2 separate regions of the Homo sapiens genome follow, and region 2 is linked to region 1. Evidence: promoter capture Hi-C in human tissues and cell types (Jung and others, 2019). All regions are on one chromosome and are shown on one strand. The core of a region is centred on a gene start or on the middle of the fragment in contact, and the rest is flanking DNA. Distances in the headings are between cores, read along the strand shown. Region 1 holds the start of NIPAL2 (NIPA like domain containing 2). Region 2 has its middle 45 kb from the start of MIR9903.

The links. The method cuts DNA at HindIII sites, captures the fragments that hold promoters and counts their contacts. A contact is called where the count stands out against the background at its distance.
Region 2: a fragment that was not itself captured here is called in contact with the fragment with the promoter of NIPAL2 in region 1 in 3 of the 25 tissues and cell types used here (bladder, hippocampus and mesendoderm cells).

The regions. Positions count from the first base shown.
Region 1 is chr8:98,292,985-98,296,756 of GRCh38, forward strand. It overlaps NIPAL2 (NIPA like domain containing 2), which reads right to left and starts at 1,251. Exons shown (of 11, transcript NM_001321635.2): 1 at 1,019-1,251. The coding sequence starts at 1,153. All of the region lies in intron 5 of LOC105375659 (a long non-coding RNA gene), which reads left to right. RefSeq lists a silencer at 771-1,490. The HindIII fragment of the contact is 9,267 bases long and covers 1-3,772 here.
Region 2 is chr8:98,346,036-98,350,886 of GRCh38, forward strand. It overlaps a transcript of STK3 not described here. Among named protein-coding and RNA genes, the nearest start is that of MIR9903, 45 kb to the right of the region's middle. The HindIII fragment of the contact is 6,049 bases long and covers 1-4,329 here.

The DNA of each region.
Region 1 (3,772 bases), core at 1-2,500:
CTTGAAAACTAATAAAGTGAACATGCTTATTTATCTTACTTATTCTTTATACAAATATATTCTCTTCTGCATTCAGAAATTAATATTTAGAACACTTCAGGCATAAAAGGAATCCAGATCTTTGATAATTGGTTAAACTCTCCGATTTAGGACAACAGCAACAAATATTTTCTGATTATATTGTTGCAAAAATAAAAGTATCCATGGTTTTGTTAAAGAACAAGAACAAAGTAACACATTTAATGAAAACAGGAGGAAGCCTGGAATCCACCGTGATAAAACTTAGTTGCAATATGAACGCTGCTAGAGGAAGGGCTGGCCAGAACACTTCCTCATCTTAAACCAAGCCAAAAATAAATGGGCGGCTCCAAGTCCCTTTGATTTTGTTAAATGTATATTTCCAGTGTAAACTGGCGTTGTTTAAGTTAACAAAGTTTTCCCAAAGGGCCGGTGGGAAAGAATGAGAGTCCTGCAAATGCAACCTGAGAAAATGTGTTCCTCGCACGGAAATGGAAGAGCTGTGTTGAGATACCAGGGACACACGCAGGGCATCTGCGCGAGGTGACATTAGGCTGCCCTTAATGAGTTTTCTGCTTCTGATAACAGGGTGTCACTTTTTTCTTTTCTTTTAACTGTAAAAGGATCCTGGGGTGAAAATGAGTGAATTGCCCCCACACTCCTAGATTCCTTCCGGGAGAAGAGGGCGGACGCAGGCTGGGGAGGCGGGATCGGGACCCGGAGGTCCCAGGAACGGGTGGCTGAGGTCAAGGCCGAAGACCTGGGCGCCCACTCCCAGTGCCGGGTGCCCGGGAGAGGAAGACTGGGCGGACCCCCGCGCTTCCGGATGAGGCGGACTTAGGTCAATGCGGGAAACATTGCATGTCACCTCTTCCCACTCGGAGAGGCCGGGTGTCTTCCTGAGAGCTGGCAGGAAAGCGGCCGAGGCGCAGAGGCGCCCGGAGCCAGCCGCCCTGGCCGCGTCCCCACCGGGCTGCGGTGGCTGCGGGGCGGCCCTTACCTGGTTCCTGCGGTACCAGTCGCCCGAGAGGGAGCCGTTGCCGGCGCCTGGTGCCCCGTACGTGAAATTCAGTGACAGCTCGTCCAGGGCGGCCGAGGCGGAGTCCCCGGGGCCCGCGGGCGCCACCGCTGCCATGAGGTCTCGCTCCCGGCGCTCGGGCTCCGGCTCGGGCTGCGGCCGCCTCCCCGCCCTGTTGCACCGCGAGGAGGCCGCGCCGCAGCCACTTCCTGCTCGGTGCCCGGGCGAGGCGGGCGCGCCGAGGCCACCTGGCTCCCGCCCCCGCGCGGCCGTAGGTGCTCCCAGCCTGGCCGGGCGCTGCCTCCTCTCCTCCTCCGGTGCGAGGTGTCCTCGGGGAGCCCGGCGGTCTGCGGCCTCCCGGGGCCGTCCAGCTCGCACCGCGCCCTCCTTCCGCTGGGCCAGTGTCTGCATCCTCGGGGCCGCACTGCCCAAGGGGGCAATCCCCGCGGCCGTCCGCAACGGGTCCCCGCGCCTGTCGGGGCCAGAATCAGATCATCTCCGTTGTAAACATTTGTCCAAGTCAATGGAAGAGGAGGAGACACTGACTAACCCAAAGCAGCTATCATCTCCCATCTCTACCTGGCAATTCCAGTCCTCTATCACATATGTAGTGTTTCTCACCGATATTTTAAAAATTGATTGCATATGAAAAAGTCATGAGTTCCCAGAAATATTGTAAGCAATATGAGAAAAAAAGATCCGAGCGATTGAATCTCAGTGCCAGTGCTTGATAGATCCTTAGTAAATATTCCTTGAATGAGGAATGTGGTAGCCATAGGACCCCAGTGTGCGATGACTGGATTGGGTTTGCTTCAGATGGGATCAGGTGGAGTTGCTGAAAAGTTGCCAGCTACTGTATATATGAATTTAGGATGAAAGATAAATGTTGTTATTAATCTTAAGAACTCTAACGAGATGTTCTGGTTTTACCTGTATTCAAATTCTAATGTGTGACCACAAATGATCTGTAGGGTATTTCTCACTTTAAAAAAACCATGATTCTATACTGTTGCCTGAAGGCTGATAGTTGCCTTCTTTTGTTTACACAATGCTGAGGTTTTTCTTAGATAATGTGCTTTGACTTCCATGAGTTCATGAAAGAGAGACCTTCAAGAAAAGAGAATTGCTGCCTAGAAGGGAGCAGGGACAGTTTTCAGTGTTTCTTAGGGGAAATGTGCAAATGAGAGAAAAGAGTGAGAAAAAGTCATTTCACATACAGAAAAAACAAGACATGTCGTCTCAGAAATTGTGTAGTTTCTTGCTTAAGCACTCGAGATGTTCAGTGAACAGCTAACAATTGTAGGTAACTATTCCCAATTTTAAGAGGCTGATTTACTTCAAATAAATATCTGAAGGAAAAAGGTCTCTATTTGTTATATTACATTTTATTTTATTTTTTGAGACAGGGTCTTGCTCTGTTGCCCAGGCTGGAGTGCAGTGGTGTGATCTTGACTCACTTTAGCCTCATATTCCTGGGCCCAAGTGATCCTCCCACCTGGGACTACATACAGGTGCATGCCACCATGCCCAGCTAATTTTTTTTTTTTTTAGATAGAGTCTCTCTCTCTTGCCCAGGCTGCAGTGCAGTGGCACAATCTCAGCTCACTGCAACCTCTGCCTCCTGGGTTCAAACAATGCTCCTGCCTCAGCCTCCTGAGTAGCTGGGACTACACGTGCACACCACCAAGCCCGGCTAATTTTTGTATTTTTAGTAGAGACAGGGTTTCACGGTGTTGGTCAGGCTGGCCTCAAGCTCCTAACCTCCAGTGATCCCCCTGTCTTGGCCTCCCAAAGTGCTGGGATTACAGGTGTGAGCCACCACACCTGGCCCTGGCTAATATTTTTCTATTTTTTTGTAGGGACAGGGTCTCGCAATTTTTCCTAGGCTGGTCTAGAACTCCTGGCCTCAAACAGTTGTCCCACCTCGGCCTCCCAAAGTGGTGGGATTACAGGTGTGAGCTGCCATGCCTTGTCTGATAAGTTTTCTATAACATCACATTCATTGATATTGGTGACTTCATTAATGCTTCTTTCTCTTCACATGCTTTAGGGTGCAAGTAACAGAGTATCCAAATAAAAGTGGCTTAAACAATAATTATCTGCTATCTCCAGAGGAATGTGTCTCTATGTGGTTCTATTATGTCGTCACTTCCACCTTTCTGCTCTGCTATCCCTGAGGTACTGGTCTTGTCCATTGAGGGAGGAAAGCCTTTTCCAGAATCCTCCTGGCATCCTTTCACCTCAGATCCCATTGGCTGGGACTGGGTCACATGCCCATGTTCTACCAGCAAGGGAGGCTGGGAAAGTGATTCTTGGGTATTTCCAACCTAGTGAGAGGTAAGCTCTACCAACCAGGATGAGTGGGAATGCCATGGGGTTATGGGGGAGGGGAACCAGTCAACCCTGGTACAACCACTCTAGTATTTTTCTATCAGCCAGATTGTAAGTAGTTGTACAGTTGCTAACAAGCAAAATACTAAATGGATTGTGTTACTTTCTGGTTTAAAATGCCTTGAAGCCTCCCTATTGCCATAATGAAGTCCACACTTTTTTTTTTTTTGAGACAGAGTCTTGCTCTGTCACCCAGGCTGGAGTGCAGTGGCACAATCTCGGCTCACTGCAAGCTCCGCCTCCCGAGTTCACGCCATTCTCCTGCCTCAGCCTCCTGAGTAGCTGGGACTACAGATGCCCGCCACCACGCCCAGCTAATTTTTTGTATTTTTAGTAGAGTCTGGG
Region 2 (4,851 bases), core at 55-2,554, 53 kb after region 1:
AGCACTTTGGGAGGCCAAGGTGGGCTAATCACCTGAGGTGAGGAGTTCAAGACCAGCCTGGCCAACATGGTGAAACCCCATCTCCACAAAAATACAAAAATTAGCCAGGCATGATCTTGGGTGCCTGTAATCCCAGCTACTCAGGAGGCTGAGGAGGGAGAATTGCTTGAACCTGGGAGGCAGATGTTGCACTGAGCTGAGATCACGCCATTGCACTTCGGCCTGGGTGACAGAGCAAGACTCCGTCTCAAAAAAAAAAAAAAAAATGTTAACAGAGCATCAGTGGTGGGACAACTCCAACAGCCTAATATAACTGTCATTGGAGCACCAAAGGAGAGGAGGGGGAGTAGGAGACTTGAAAAAATATTTGAGGAAATAATGTCCAAATTTTTTTTTCAAATTTAATGAATACTATAAACTCATAAATCCAAGAAGCTCAATGAACACCAAGTAAAAGAAACATGAAGAAAAGCATATGAAAATAAAATTTCATAAAAGCACATCAGTATAAAATGTGTCAAAAACCATTGATAAAGAGAAATCATAAAATCATCCAGAGATAAAAGACCACAACATTCAAAGGGACAAAGATAAGGATAACAGCAGATTTCTCCTTGGGAGAAATACAAGTGAGACAGTTGTATCAATCTAGAATACTATACTCAGCAAAGCTATCTGTCAAAAACAAAAGTGAAATAAAAACTTCTTCAGACACAAAAATCTGAAAGAATTTATCTCCAGCAGGCCTACACTGTAAGAAATGTTATAGGAAGTTTCAGGCAGAAAAAAAAAAGATACCACATATAGATACGGGTCTACACAACAGAATAAAGAACATTGGAAATGGTAGCTACATATATATGTGTATAAAACTTTTCCTTATCATTTAAATGCCTTTAAAATATAATTATATTTTTAAGCAAAAATAATAATAATGTATTGTATTGTAGGGTTTACAATATATGTGAAAACAAAATGTATAGCTAACAATACCACAAAGCCCATAAAAGGAGAAGTGGAAGAAAGGATTTTATACTATACATAAAAATGCTATAATATCACTTGAAGGTAGAATGTAAAATGTTAGAGATGTATATTATAAACCCTATAGCAGCCACTAAATAACAAAACAAAGAGTTATAGCTAATAAACCAAGGAAAAAGATGATAAAAATATTTTTTAAAAAACCAGCGTATTGGCCGGGCACGGTGGCTCACGCTTGTAATCCCAGCACTTTGGGAGGCCGAGGCGGGCGGATCACGAGGTCAGGAGATCAAGACCATCCTGCCTAACACGGTGAAACCCCGTCTCTACTAAAAATACAAAAAAATTAGCCGGGCGTGATGGCGGGCGCCTGTAGTCCCAGCTACTCGGGAGGCTGAGGCAGGAGAATGGCGTGAACCCAGGAGGCAGAGCTTGCAGTGAGCCAAGATTGCGCCACTGCACTCCCGCCTGGGCCACAGAGCGAGACTCCGTCTCAAAAAAAAACAAAAAAAACCAAAAAAAACCACAGCGTATTAATCCAAAAAAGGCAGAAATCGAGAAAAATGGAACAAAGGACAGCTGGGACAAATAGAAAAAAATTACAATGATGAACTAAAGTCTACCCATATCAACAATACATTAAATATAAATGTTGAAACAATCTCAATTAAAAGGCAGAGATTGTCAGAGTGGATAAAAAAGCAAGACTGACCTATATGTTGCCTATAGGAAACATACATTAAATGTTAAGATACAAATAGATTAAAGGTAATAGGATGATAGAAAGACAAAGTCTTGTCAAGATATTCGTTCTTTCCAGCTTGTTGTAAAGATTCATCACAATTCAAAAAAAATTAAAAGTCCCTGCAAGATATTTTGTAATATCAACAGAGATTCTAAAGTTTATATGGAGAGGCAAAAGACCCAGAATAGCCAACACAATATTGAGGGACAAGAAAAAAGTAAACCTGATACTGCTTAACTTCAAGACTTACTATAAATCTACGATAATCAAGACTGATATTGGTGAGAGAATCGACAAATAGAACAATGGAATTGAATAGAGAGCTCATAAATAGACCCTCATGAATATAGTTAACTAATCTTTGACAAATGAGCAAAGGCAATGCAATGAGGAAAAGACAGTCTTTTCAACAAATGATACTGGAATAATTGGATATCCATATATAAAAAGATGGAACTAGACAAAGACTTTACATCCTTCACAAACAGTAGCTCAAAATGGATCATAAGCTTAAATGTAAAATCCAAAACTATAAAACTAGAAGAGTTAATAAAAGAAAAAGAAAGAAAGAAAATCTAGATGACCTGGGATTTGGCAATAACTTTTAGATGCAACACCAGAACCACAATCCATGAAACAAAGAATTGATAAACTGGTGTTTACTAAAATTAAAGACTTCTGCTTTGCAAAAGACATTGTCAAGAGAATGAGAAGACAAACCACAGATGGGGAGAAAATATTTGCAAAAGACGCATTTAATAAAGGGCAGTTATCCAAAATACACCAAGAATTTTAAAACTGAACATTAAGAAAACAAACAACCTGATTTAAAAGTGGGCAACAGATCTGAACAAGCATCTCAACAAAAATATACAGATGGCAAATAAGTGTATGAAAAGATGTTCAACATTATATGTCATTAGGGAATTTCAAGTTAAAACAGCAATGAGACATTGATTAGAATGTTGAAAATTCAAGACACTGATAACACCAAATGCTGACAAGGATGTGGAGCAACAAGTACTCTCATTCATTGCTGTGGAAATGTAAAATGGTACAGTCACTTTGGAAGGTATTTTGGCAGTTTCTTACAAAACTAAACATACTCTTACCAAACAATACAGCAATAATGCTCCCTGGTATTTACCAAAAGAAGTTGAAAACTTATGTTCATGCAAAAATCTGTGCATGATGTTTATAGCAGCTTTATTTATAATTGCCCAAACTTGGAAGCAACCATGATGTCCTTCAGTAGGTGAATGGATAAATAAATGGTGGTACATCCAGACAATAGAATATTATTTGGTGCTAAAGAGAAATGAGCTATTAAGTCATGAAAACACATAGAGGGAACTTAAATGTGTATTCCTATAAGAAGCCTGTCTGAAAGGCTGCATACTTTTGATTCCAACTATATGACATTCTAGAAAAGGCAGAACTACAGAGATGGTAAAAAGATCAGTGGTCATCAGGGGTTGGGAGAGGGAGAGATGAAAAGGAGAGGTATAGAGGATTTGTAGGGCAGTGAAACTACTCTTTGACTCCATGTCTTATATCCAGGTAATGCCGATGCAAGAGGTGGGCTCCCATGGTCTTCGGCAGCTCTGCCCCTGTGGCTTTGCAAGGTGTGGCCTCCCTCCCAGCTGCTTTCACAGGGTGGTGTTGAGCATGGCTTTTCCAGGTGCACAGGGTAAGCTGTTGGTGGATCTACCATTCTGGCTCTGGAGGATGGTGGCCCTCTTCTCCCAGCTCCACTAGGCAGCACCCCAGTGGGGACTCTCTATGGGGGACCCACTCCACATTTCCTTTCTGCACTGCCCTAGCAAAGGTTCTCTATGAATACCTCACCCCAGCAGCAAACTTCTATCTGGACATCCAGGCATTTCCATACATGCTCTGAAATCTAGGCTGAGGTTCCCAAACCTCAATTCTTGACTTCTGTGTACCTGCAGGCTCAACACCACAAGGCTTGGGACTTGCACCCTCTGAAGCCATGGCCTGAGTTGTACATTGGCCCTTTTTAGTCATGGCTGGAGCAGCTGGGACACAGGGCACCAAATCCCTAGACTGCACACAGCAGAGGGACCCTAGGCCCAACCCATGAAACCATTTTTTTCTCCTAGGCCTCCAGGCCTGTGATGGGAGGGGCTGCCACAAAGGTCTCTGACATGCCCTGGAGACATTTTCCACATTGTCTTGGTGGTTGACATTTGATTCCATGTTACTTATGCAAATTTCTGCAGCCAGCTTGAATTTCTCCTCAGAAAATGGGATTTTCTTTTCTATTGCATTGTCAGGCTGCAATTTTTCCGAACTTTTATGCTGTGCTTCTCTTATAAAACTGAATGCCTTTAACAGCACCCAAGTCACCTCTTGAATGCTTTGCTGCTTAGAAATTTCTTCTGCCAGATACCCTAAATCATCTCTCTCAAGTTCAAAGTTCCACAAATCTCTAGGGCAGGGGCAAAATGCCACCAGTCTCTTTGCTAAAACATAACAAGAGTCACCTTTGCTCCAGTTCCCAACAAGTTCCTTATCTCCATCTGAGACCATCTCAGCCTGAATTTCATTGTCTGTATCATTATCAGCATTTTGGTCAAAGCCATTCAAAAAGTCTCTGGGAAGTTCCAAATTGTCTCACATTTTCCTGTCTTCTCCTGAGCCCTCCAAACTGTTCCAAACTCTGCCTGTTACCCACTTCTAAAGTTGTTTCCACATTTTCGGGTATCTTTTCAGCAGTGCCCCACTCTACTGGTACCAATTTACTGTATTAGTCAATTTTTTCACTGCTGATAAAGACATACCTGAGACTGGGAAATTTACAAAAGAAAGAGGTTTAATGGACTCACAGTTCCACGTGGATGAGGAGGCCTCACAATCATGGCAGAAGGTGAAAGGCACATCTTGTGATGGTAGACAAGATAAGAGAATGAGAGCCAAATGAAAGGGATTTCCCCTTATAAAATAATCAGATCTTGTGAGACTTAGTCACTACCATGAGAACAGTATGGGGGAAACTGCCCCCATGATTCAGTTATCTCCCACTGGGTCCCTCCCACAACATGTGGGAATTATGGGAGCTACAACTCAAAATGAGATTTGGGTGGGTACACAGCACAACT